4 separate regions of the Homo sapiens genome follow, and regions 2, 3 and 4 are each linked to region 1. Evidence: promoter capture Hi-C in human tissues and cell types (Jung and others, 2019). All regions are on one chromosome and are shown on one strand. Each heading gives the region's core, a stretch centred on a gene start or on the middle of the fragment in contact. The rest is flanking DNA. Distances are from core to core; before and after follow the strand shown.

Region 1 (3,016 bases), core at 467-2,966:
CCTGTCCGGGGTCCCCGGCCCATGTGGCCTTTCTTCCAGCGACAGTACACTTAGCTCAGAACGGATTGACACCCACTCTGTGTTTCCACCGGGCGCGCAGGCTCTGCAATGCGGAGCGCGTTCTCTGAAGGACAGGCCCCGGAGTCACGGCTACAGCCACAGAAAGCGGAAACCGAGCTGCAGTCCAGAGGGGATCCCCGTACATTTCCAGCGGGCTCAGACACAGGGTCCCCCACAAGAAAGAAACAGGACAGAAAAAGTCAGGACACGTATGCTGTGGAGAGTCGAGGTCTCGCCTAGATCTTGGGTGTGGGTAGACGCAGCCGCTGGCAGTTTTCCTTTCCAGCGTCTCTGGGGAGCCTGGAGATGTCCTTGGTGCCGATGTGACACGAAGAGTGATTGCGCCGCCCTGCAGAGGCGGTGGCGGGACGCTGCGCTCGGGCTGGGAAAGGCCGGCCCCAGGGCGACCCCTCCGGAGGCCCCCGGAGAGCAGGTGTGCACCTCGCCTCCCGCTGGGCAGCCAGTTCAGGAGAAAAATGTGAAGCTTTTAGCTAAACAAAATATTTCTTTCGTTAAGGGCTTTCTCCACACGGAGACTTTCTAGCCACGTGAGACTTTGACCTCCCAGTCCCCCAGATTCAGCGCTGGGACCGAGCGTCTGCTGTTATTTTTAGTAGAAGTATAAAAAGAATCTCGAAAAGTTTTAGCTCTGGAGAAGGCGTGAATACAGCTGGTGCCTTCATACACTCCACTTGAGCCGCTCTTTAAGAACTCCAGGAGATCAGAAAGCAATACGAAAGCCAGAGCATTGCACATGGGATGGGCTGGCGGGTGGCCTTTGGGTCCCTATCTTATGGACGATTTTTGTAAATGGGGCATTGGAGATGAGTATCACCTGGATCACATTTTTAGGTTGAATTCCTCCGTGGGGGGAACTTTAGCAATACGCATCCAAATAAGAATGTAGATTGCAATAATTGTAGTAAAGTGTTTGCCAGACTCATCTCAGAAAAAGACATTATCAAAAGGCATTTATTATCTTCCTAATGCGTGTCTGGCACTGGGCAGACACTGTAGAATACTATCTTGATTAGAGTCTCAAGGATTTTGTACTTAAAGTCCTTTACAAATAAAAGTATTCAAGTATAATCTATTATAAAGACTCTTTTCTCCACTTTGGGGATATACGGTGTGGCATCGATTCATTGGTCATACCAAAACTGTTACTTCTGTTTTGGAGGAATTAACAAGGAAAACCCAGGCTTAGTAAATCAACATCGAAGTTCAGAAGTTCAGAGTAATTTGTCTTGGGAACAAAGTCCTCCCTAGAGCGAAGAGGCATTCACAGGAGCTCTTGGTGTTAATGGGATTATTCAAGATATACCTGAGACCAGATAAATATTTGATGATTTTGCCAAGCACTAGGGTTTCTTTGCAGTTTGTCTTTGGCTGACGTTTTCCCCCCGTGGGGTTTGGACTTTGTGGCTTCACCAGATTTTGCAAATGAAAGAAGGCTGGGGTTTCCCAAGAGTACACTTGTGCAGGAAACAACAGACTAGTGAGGTTTACAAGAGGGGGGTGTGTGTGTGTGTGTGTCTGCCTGTGGGATGGGGGTGGCACGGGGGAGAGAGAGATGTGGGTTACAAAGCTGCCATCTAGAGGCTAGAGGCTCCTTTCTGCAGTGTATATAATGCAAGTCTGCAGCCAGCAGAGCTCACAGTTGTTGCAAAGTGCTCAGCACTAAGGGAGCCAGCGCACAGCACAGCCAGGAAGGCGAGCGAGCCCAGCCAGCCCAGCCAGCCCAGCCAGCCCGGAGGTAAGGAAACGGTGCTCGGGCAGCAGCTCTGCTCGGAAAGAAGGCACGGCTTCTGCTCTTAAGCCAAGTGGTCTTTTCAAAGGCCTTCTTTAAAATCGCTCAGATGGGTGCTTTTGAGTCTGCGGGTCTGGTTTCTGAAAACCCAGGCTGCACGCAGCTGCATTGCAAAGTGCTTTTGCTAATTCGGAGGGCTTCACCTTTCTCTTCAGAAAGCAAAGGGCAGTTTTCTTAAGTCACTTGCAGAAGGAAATTTCCATGTGTATTTAGGAATCTGGTGTTTATTTGCTGTGTGGCTATTTAAGCTCCAGTAAGCAGGGGAACTTTGCAAGAACACAGACTATCCATTCTGCCTGACCAATTTGGCATGGGGATTAGCTTGGCACCCACTGTTTACCTGTTTTGCTTCTAGTATATCAGTTTGGAAACAGATAAAATTGGCAGTAAATACGTAATTCCAGAATGATGAACACTTTATTAAGAGGCATCCTTAAATGGAGCAGAAAACTGCTGAGAATCTTTGTGAGTCCAAGATGTATTTGAATTCAGTACTTTGGGGGATTTACCAGAGTCTGTAAGTCCGGAAGCTATAAACGTGAATGTTAAACACAGCCCGGTCTTCTCTTCTCTTGATGGCACGCTTGCTAATCTAATTTGAGTATTGTTCTCTTAGAAGGTGTTAAGTCCAACTTCAATTGGGGTTGGGGGAAGCACACACACAAATCTACTATTTTGCAATTTAAATATACTCTTCAGGTAAAATGTGGATTTTGTTCAATTTTGTTGGCATGTGCAAAGATTCAAGGAGTGACTGAGAGAACTTTGGAGTGAGGTCAGGGATGGGTGGTTAGCCAAGACTTGTAACTTCCAGGGAGAATGAGAAGTTGTAAAAGTCAGACTGGCTGTCTCTCTTTCTCTCTTCCTCTTTCTTTCTTTCTTTCTTTCCTTTTGCTCACAACAGGATTACTTAGTGTTTCAAAAGTGGGAGAGAGCCTCCTTAAATGGTTTACAGCCCTTTGAATGTATTTGGTGCAGTGACATCCCCTGAAACTTCAGTCTGCAAAGTCTCAACATGGTAACTTTGTTCTTTTCTTTTTTAAAGGCAGATGCTGCTTTTAGTGTCCCTTTATTTATTCCAGGAAAAATGTGGACATCAGCTAGGCACGCCTAGCAAAGAAAGTGGAGGCTGCTGGTTTCTGTGCT
Region 2 (2,920 bases), core at 251-2,750, 330 kb after region 1:
GCAAGCACGTTCAGAAGGACCAGAGAAGAAATCATGCTCAAGCAAAGAATTCAATCTGCTGCTTGAAAGGCCACATCATATTCCTGGAAAATTTTAATAACAAAAATAAATCCTAAGGTATGTCTTGCTAGAAATATTTAACTCTAAGGATTAAGAAAGAATACTACAAGCTTTCAGGCAGAAGAAAAGGCTCATGGCCTAAAGGAGGAAAAATGCAGAGCAACATGGACCTTAGACTTGTCCTCGACACAGCTCTATCGCAGAAGCAAATTTCACGGTAGCTTTAGGAGAACATGAGAGTCCTAATGTTTGTACCCAGTGAAGTTTTTCTTCATGTATAAATTCAACAAAAAATCATAATAAAAAGGTCAATGAATCCCTTCTGAAAAAACTAGTAAGCCATATTTGAAATGACTGCAAATGAAGACTTCAGACAAAGGGAAGGTATCATGACAGGGCTGGCGGTGAGCACTGACATGTGGAACTGAGGGTAAACAACTCGATAATTCTACTTATGCAATGCTGTGAAGTCAATCATTTGAAGGAAAAGATTGGGAAGTAAAATTTTAAAATACTGTCTAATATACAGAAACTAAAATTCCTGGGTTTATAAACAAAAGGAAGAAGTAGTACCAACATCAAATCATCTAGTCTTTCCTCCACTGTTTTGATGTAGCTTTGGTAGAATTATTTCATTTTAAAATTTTGTTCCTGAAGTTTTGAAAAGAAAATGTAATGCTATCTATCCATGTTCTTATAAAATTAGTCACTATGAGAAGTAAGGACAAATTATATAGCTCTGAAACTATCACATTCTGAAAAAACACTGAACAGAAAACAAAAGATACAAAAGAAAGAAAGAGAAAGTATTTCATTTTGACCAAAAAGAATGAGGAGCACTGATAACTTAATATGTGAAAATCTATTAACATAATTCACTCTGTTGACAGATTTATGAAGAAAACATATGGTCATCTCAGTAGATACAGGAAAAAAATTCAATTAAATTTAATACTCATATGTGATCAAATAACTCTTAGTAAACCAATAAGCAAATAATCTTAACTTGATTTTAAAAAGGCTCAACAAAATTAGACATCATCTCGTTTGGGTGGTGAAACATTAGAAGCATTGTTTTGTTTTTTGAACAAAAAAGTTGTCTATTACCATTGTTTTAATTGATAAATATTATATTAAAATTCTAGAAAGTATCAGTCAAAGAAAAGAATCCCTGCCTTAAACAAATTCCAAATGAGATAAAATATACAGAGAGAAGAATCAGAAAGAAACACAGATATTATTTCCAGCAACAATGAATTAGAAAATGTAATTATAAAGGTTTCTGCCAACCATAAAGCAAAACTTACAAGTATCTGGGAATGCATCTAACATGATGCAAGCCTGATTTTTTATTGAGAAAATTATAACACAATTTGAAAATGACTAAATAAGTGGAAATTTGTTCTGGATTTACAAGTGGGAAGCCAACCTTAAAACAATATCAAGTCTCTCTGATTTAACTTATGATAAAGTCCATACAATTCTAGTCAAAACCCTGCAGGGTTGTTAATAAAACTTGACATTAATCTTTATCATAAAATCCTTACGAAAGGGTAAAGGTCTAACGATAGTGAAGCTATGTCCTAAAGAAGGATGTTGGCTGGGGAGACTGCCTGACCATTTATCCCGGCTTTATAAGATTACAGTAATTAGAACAGGATGACATCAACACACGAGATAAACAGAGACCAAGGATACGGCTTTGAGGGCTCAGAAGCTGGTCCATGTATATTTAGGTTAAAAAGTAAAGCTTTAAGATTTGTAGGAGAAAGAACAGGGCAATGGCCAATGTTGGTAAAGATGTGGAGGAAAGATGACTCTTCTGCCCTGTGTTTAGAGGTTTGGGAAGGAGGAGGGGGACGTGTAAATGGGACAATTTATTGGAAGACAGTTTGTCTCTTCTGGTGAAGCTGATGATGGCAATACCCTATAATGCTACATTTTACTAATTCAGGAGATAGTCCACAGAAAATCTCACATATCAGGACTTTTATTAAAGCGTTATTTATAAAAACGAATATTAGAAAAAAACCAAAATGTCCATACCTGGGAAAATGGGTAAATTCTGCCATATTTATAAAATACTACACAGTAATTCTTCTGAAAATTTAAGTCTTAATATGTCTACATGGAGAACAGGATGAGGACAGAAATTTCAACTGTGTGAGTGACAGCAATCCTTTGAGAAGAAATAATATTCAGAGTAGAAACTGAAAACAGAGTTGAATGACATAACCAATACGTTGACAACTGGCACCTGCATTCCTCTTGGGGAGAAATTTGTCTCTGTTTAGGGGGAAAGGGCTTAATCAACTCAGATTTAGAAGGAAGAACTCAGATAATATATTCTGGGGTAAAAGATACCTGAAAGAGGGTGCCGCATGGTATTAAACTCTGATTAATTTAGGACCGACCGTGAGACAATAGAAAATGTTTACTTAAAAGCTGAATATTCCAGTTCAAAGATTTTAATATTTGTAAATTTTACAAGTATCATATATTACCTTTGTAATTAAAAAAATAATTATTAAGAAGTTTCGGGCCGGGCGCGGTGGCTCACGCCTGTAATCCCAGCACTTTGGGAGGCAGAGGCGGGCGGATGATGAGGTCAGGAGATCGAGACCATCCTGGCTAACACAGTGAAACCCCGCCTCTACTAAAAATACAAAAAACTAGCCGGGCGTGGTGGCGGGCGCCTGTAGTCCCAGCTACTCGGGAGGCTGAGGCAGGAGAATGGTGTGAACCCGGGAGGCGGAGCTTGCAGTGAGCCAAGATGGCGCCACTGCACTCCAGCCTGGGCGACAGAGTGAGACTCCGTCTCAAAAAAAATAAATAAAAAAAAAAAAAAAAAAAAAGAAGT
Region 3 (3,022 bases), core at 103-2,602, 260 kb after region 1:
TCACAGAATTAATCATATTTATTCATTTATTTATTTGTATTTCAGCACATGGGATTTATTTTCCCAGGAAAATCTCCATCCATTGGCATGACTGTTTTTAAGTTGTTATTTTTACATTGCTTATGTGAAATGGATATTTTTAGAAGTTCTCTATTGCCACAAATGGAAGAAAATGGTGAAGTCTTGAAGATTGCTTGTGATCTCATTTTATTGCACTCACATTCTCTGTTGGTGAGAAAAACGTGCTTTCCATCATACTAAGGCCCTCCACTGAACTTGCAGACTCCACTAGAGCCCAGAGAATGCAGGGCTGCTCTTCCAGTTCAGATTCACGTCATCTCACAGGCTTCTCATGGCCCCCAGGAAGTCTAGGTCTCTTGTACCACTTGACTTGACATCGTCATTTGACTTGTGAGATTCTCAAGCCTTTATGGACAGGGTCAGCTTTCCTATATCTCTTCTCTTCTTAGACTAAAAATGCAGAGAGATTCCTGCCTCTCTCCCAAAGCGTGGCCAGCTGTCTCATGGGGGACTTGAAGGTTGGTGTCCCCCAGAGTCGACTGGACTTCACCCTTCTTTCTTCCCTCTCCATGGATTACTGCTGAGGGTCTCTTCTGTTCCCTCGCCTTGCCATGTATAGTGGCTGATGACGCCTGGCTCTCCATCAGGGAAGGGACTGGGAGAGGTGAGTGAGAAGCCTCAGCTTCCCTCTTAGGCTCTGCCTGTTGCACAGTCTGAGATAAATGTGCCAAGTTTTGTTTGTCCTTCCTCTGATGTGTTCCTTGATTCTGTTTCCTTATTTCATTCCCATCACCATGACTTTAGTCAAGCCATTGTTACCTGTCACTGCAACTCAACTCCATAACTCAGTGAGTTTTCAAAGGCCCCTAAGGCAGTGGATCCCAGTTTTGAAGGTGAGGAGCAAAATGCATTTTGAGAAAGTGTGTTGTGTGTAATGTTTGGATAATGAGATAAGTTACACATTGTGCTGGGGACATAGATTCCAGGTACTAAGCTTGAGAGAAACGGCTTGGCTGACAGCTGCAGATACTTGTGCACGCGTGGGGAGGGGAACTGTGCAGCACCCCACTGTCTTCAGTGAGGCTGGGTGAGGCTGCACCTGATTTCTATGTTTACTAAAAAGGGCACGGAGTATAAAAGGCTGAGAAACACCGCTCGAACCAATCTGTCTGTCTTCATTTCTTTATTTAATTCAATAAACATGGGTTGAGGGTCTGGGTTATTCCGGAAGATGCCAGGGTTAAGGATGCAGGTATTAAGAAGACATGGCCCCTCTTAGGAGGGGCCTTCTAGGAGACACCATCTCTGGGGAGAGGCTGTGGTCAGCTGCAGATTCACTGCATGGGATCTGTGCTCCATCCAGGGGCATGTCAAGGAGAGCCCCTAACCCAAGCGGCACATCCAGAGCTTCCTGATGAGGGGCTGCCCAAGTGGGCTGTGAAGGGTGGGAGTGGTAGCAGGTTGGGGCCATCTCAGATTGTTCTGAAGACCCCCAGTGAGGGAGAAGCAGGCCTGGGAGCAGGTGGGGGCATCTGGTACATGTGCAGGAAGGAGGGTGCTGGGGTGGGCTGCTCAGATGACCTGGAGCTTTGTGGGCCATTTTAGAAAGAGAAGCCTACTCCTCATGGTGGGATTGGAAGCTCCCTGTGGGGCTGGAAGAAGGGGAGCCCATCTCTGAAAGCCAGGGAGAGACCACCTCCAGCCAGCTCTGCCAAAGGCTCCTGTGTCCTGAAGTCTCAGGCTACACTTTAATCCTGAAACAGGTACAGCAGGAACTGCTCCTGTTCCTGCACCTGCTCTGCCTGATGGGCCATTTCAGAGCAGGGAAGAGAATGTCCTTTATCACTCCCACCTGACCAAATCCTCACCATCCCGTCAGTGTGACTTGGGGCTGGTCACTTAACCTCTCTGAGCACCAGTGTTTTCATTTGTGAAATGAGGATAGAATAACCAGTCTCAAAGTCACTGGCTCTGGCACGTAGTAGGTACTAAGTAGGTGAGAATTGCAATTATTATTATTATCATTAATTGTTATTAATGACTGTGATTGTCACTGTTTCTATTTATATTTTTGTCTTTTCTGCCAGTCACTGGGTTCTAGAGACAAGGGGAGGGCTGGCCCCAGGACAGAAACCTCAGAAAGAATTCTCCAGTCTTGGAGTTGTGGACTTGAATTTCATTTCTTCTGTTAGGAACACAGGACTAAGTCAGAAGAGTAGGGAGATAGATATATTCTGAGCCAAATGTCACGGAATTTCAGAGCTGAGGATGGCCAAGGGTACACGGTGAACAGAGGCCATGGAAGGATGCATGCCAGAGTCTCTACCCCTCTGCATATAGCCTGTAATTGCTTTAGATTTTCACTAGTAGTTTTATACCATGCATGTGTATCAGTGGGCAAGTCGCTCTCTGCTGTGAACCTCTGTTTCTTTGTCTATAAAATGGAAATTATGGGCCAAATGATTTGCAAGAGCCCCGTCCACTGCTGCTCTAAGACCAGCAGGAATCACTAGATGGGGAATCCCAGTCCTCTCCATCTCTTCATTGGCTAGTATCAGGGATCCATGAGTCAGTAGGTTGACAAATGCCCCCTTAAACACCAAGTCCTAAACCAAGGGCTCCATGTTCCCAGACAGAGATGCCATTAGCAGCTTCTCTCTGCCAGCACCCCAGACAGGTGCATGCATTTTCCTACTGACATAAAACTCATGGTCAGGACCTACCTCACTGCCCCATTCTCATCTAAAAGGAATTTGACCAAGGATGGTGTCACTGGCATTAAGCTTCTCATGTGGGCCAAGAGATAAAAAGTTCACAGACTCAGCTGCAAGTTACATCCTGTTTGGCACTGTGGGAAATCACTGGGTTTAGGAACTTATTTCTCACCCTGAACCTCTTTCAGGAAATGATGTTGTCCTTTTTGATGCCCTGGCTACAAAATGCAATGGGGATTCCATTGCACTGTAGTTCTGCTACCTTCTCAGAGTTAAACCTGATGGGA
Region 4 (2,844 bases), core at 246-2,745, 340 kb after region 1:
GCCTGTAATTCCAGTATTTTGGGAGGCTGAGGTGGGCAGATCACTTGAGATCAGGAGTTTGAAACTAGCCTGGTCAATGCGGTGAAACCCCATCTCTACTAAAAATACAAAAATTAGCCAGATGTGGTGGTGCACACCTGTAATCCCAGCTACTTGGGAGGCTGAGGCAGGAGAATTGCTTGAACCTGGGAAGTGAAGCAGAGGTTGCAGTGAGCTGAGATCGTGCCATTGCACTCCAGCCTGAGTGTCGCAGTGAGATTCCGTCTCAAATAAAAAACAACAACAACAACGACAAAAACAGTCCACGTTAAGACAGAATTCTTGTCAGTTGTGGAAAGAGAAATGCTCTCCTTCACCTATTTCTCTGTTGAGGCAGCCTGAGCATGCGACTGTCCTGTGACACACCTTCATTTCGGATGCTGTGCCCGGCCCCGGGCTCCCCACTTTTCCACGGTGGAATCCACATGTGCATTTTGTAGTCATGGCTTTTACTCACAATTTTCCCTCTAGATGCAAACGCGTCTCCATGAGGAAGAGCAAGGCTCCTGCAGGATGGAGATCAGATGGATCAGGGATCCCACAGACAGAACCTTTTGCCTGATATGAGCACCCTTGGGAGAGACCTCTTCACACAAATGTTCCTTGCAAGGAAAACACTCCTGCCTCACTTTCTTCAACCCAGCCATGACCTTTCTTGGTGAGAAACTGTAGGAAGAGTTGGATCTCTGGTGTGTGTGTGTGTGTGTGTGTGTGTGTGTGTGTGTGTGTGTGCATGGTCTGATATGAACTACGTAGCCTCTTCCTTCCGGGATCAGCTCCTCACTGTGTCCCCAGATGAGGCTTTAACCCCTGAGTGCCCTGGATGATGGTGCTGCTGCCCCCTGGCCCTGCTCACCTGGCCCCTTCCCTGGCTCTCTCTCTGCAGGGACAGGGTCACACCAGGGTTACAGCATCTGCCTCCCAGCCTCCCAGCTGGCCAGCCCTTCTGCAGTGGCTCAGCCGCAGACCCCTCCTGCACACCACAGCCAAAAACGATTCTGCCAGGACTACAGCATCCCGTGAAACTGACGCTTAATGATGCAGAACTCCACGTTTCCTGTCGTCAACTTGTCATCATTTTCCTTCCCAGAACCCCCAGCACCTCTGACACCGACCTGGATCTCTACTCCAGAAACTCAAAACCCATTTTTGCCACACCGTCACGCTAGCTCTCCTTTGCTCCCCTAATCCAGGTCCCCGTTTCTCTGCACCTGTGCCCACCACCGGGAATCTCTCCTGTTAAGTCGCCTCCTCCATCCCGCCTTCTCCTGACCCCGTTGGCCCATGCGTCTTTGAACTTTTGCAGAATTTGCATCTGTAACAAATTACTTGCTATTTAATTATGTTCTGTCATATTATTCCTGTTGAATTTGGCTGAGAACCATGCGCTCCTTGAAAGCAGAAACTGTCTTTGTTGTTCTGTGTCCTGATTCAACCCACTAGCCCCAGAGCACGTCTGCAGGAAAGGCCTTCTAAGCTCAGGTCATCAAGCTCCTCCCAACTGCACTCTTTTACTTCTGTTTTTCCAAGTCGATCTTTTTTTAAAAAAAAACAAAAAACTTAAATGAATTCATTATTAAAAAAACTTTTTATCACCTCCAGAAATGGAAAACTGTATCATTTGCCATCAGTAGAATTTGGCTGTAAAAGCAAATTCCATGTAAACAGAACAATGCTGTTGGGTCCTACTTCCTCAGTCTGAGACCTGCTCTTTCTCCCGTGGTCATGGAGACTCCAAGTTCTAAAGACATACTAGGAACAGAGAGCAGCTTTTATTGTATCCAGAAGAAGAGAGACAGAAAAAAACAGAACCACCTGAAAAGTGAACAACTTCCTCACTCTGTGATTGGCAGTTGTTGAATCCAGTGAACAGGCACCACCAAAGATCACCCTCAGCCCACACCTCAGGACCCTCTGGTACAGACTCCAAAATCTACCACTTACTGTGTGAGTTCCAAGTAACAAACTCTGAGTATTATCTTATTTAACTCACTCTGGGGTGAGTTCTCTAAGGAAGAACCCATTATTATCCCGCTTTCCAGATGAGGAAACTGAACATAGCAGGAGAAAGAAGCTTGACCACAACCACACAGTAGTAAGTGACTAAGTCAGGACCCAGTGAGGATAAACAGTCATCCTAAGTTTTATAAGACAGAAAATTTAATTACAGGGACTTCCTAGATGGTAGAAGAGCCAAAACGTCAGACAAGGGACATTGAGGCAACCCTGGTGTCCACAGCATCAGGAAGTGGCTACCACCTCTCAGATGCACAAGGAAGGAGGCAGTTATCAGAGCCCAGGAATCAGACTCACTGAAGGGAAGCTAGAACCAGGGTGGGTCTCTGTGGCAGGAGCTGGCTTGTAGAAGGAAAGAGCCTCCAGGCAAGACAGCCCAACAAACAGAGTCAAGAAGCCCACCCAGACTCCTGTACACACCCATGTCCCTCCAGGCTTCCCATTGGTCCAACCCAGTCAGAAGCCAGAGACACAGGAACCCGGGGCTCATAGCCTGCAGAGGCCAGACCCCCCATGATACAGGGCAGAGCAGGGGTGGATGGGAGGAGGGGGATGCTTTGAGACCACCAGGCACAGGCTCACCCAGGTGGTCTTATTCTGGGGTCTTTTCACTCACACAAACCATGTTGTAGTTGACTATTGGATTTCATGAGATAAGAGTTCATGTGTGTTCTTCCCCATTCCAAGAAGAGGTGGGCTCTTCCTACTTCCTAGCTACCTGCAGCTACCTGGAGCTTTCTTCTAACATCTAGGGAGTCCCTGTAAGTAAATTTTCTGTTTTAAAACTGT

What was found. The method cuts DNA at HindIII sites, captures the fragments that hold promoters and counts their contacts. A contact is called where the count stands out against the background at its distance.
Region 2: a contact is called between a fragment that was not itself captured here and the fragment with the promoter of ACKR3 in region 1, in 1 of the 25 tissues and cell types used here (pancreas).
Region 3: a contact is called between a fragment that was not itself captured here and the fragment with the promoter of ACKR3 in region 1, in 2 of the 25 tissues and cell types used here (mesenchymal stem cells and mesendoderm cells).
Region 4: a contact is called between a fragment that was not itself captured here and the fragment with the promoter of ACKR3 in region 1, in 3 of the 25 tissues and cell types used here (mesendoderm cells, spleen and stomach).

What each region holds. Positions count from the first base shown.
Region 1 is chr2:236,568,109-236,571,124 of GRCh38, forward strand. ACKR3 (atypical chemokine receptor 3) reads left to right here and starts at 1,717. Exons shown (of 2, transcript NM_020311.3): 1 at 1,717-1,816. RefSeq lists enhancers at 1-77, 78-953. The HindIII fragment of the contact is 7,550 bases long and covers 1-3,016 here.
Region 2 is chr2:236,895,224-236,898,143 of GRCh38, forward strand. No RefSeq gene overlaps it. Among named protein-coding and RNA genes, the nearest start is that of COPS8-DT, 190 kb to the right of the region's middle. The HindIII fragment of the contact is 4,359 bases long and covers 1-2,920 here.
Region 3 is chr2:236,830,857-236,833,878 of GRCh38, forward strand. No RefSeq gene overlaps it. Among named protein-coding and RNA genes, the nearest start is that of COPS8-DT, 250 kb to the right of the region's middle. The HindIII fragment of the contact is 4,086 bases long and covers 1-3,022 here.
Region 4 is chr2:236,911,454-236,914,297 of GRCh38, forward strand. The region is part of intron 2 of COPS8-DT (COPS8 divergent transcript); the gene reads right to left. Among named protein-coding and RNA genes, the nearest start is that of COPS8-DT, 170 kb to the right of the region's middle. The HindIII fragment of the contact is 5,661 bases long and covers 1-2,844 here.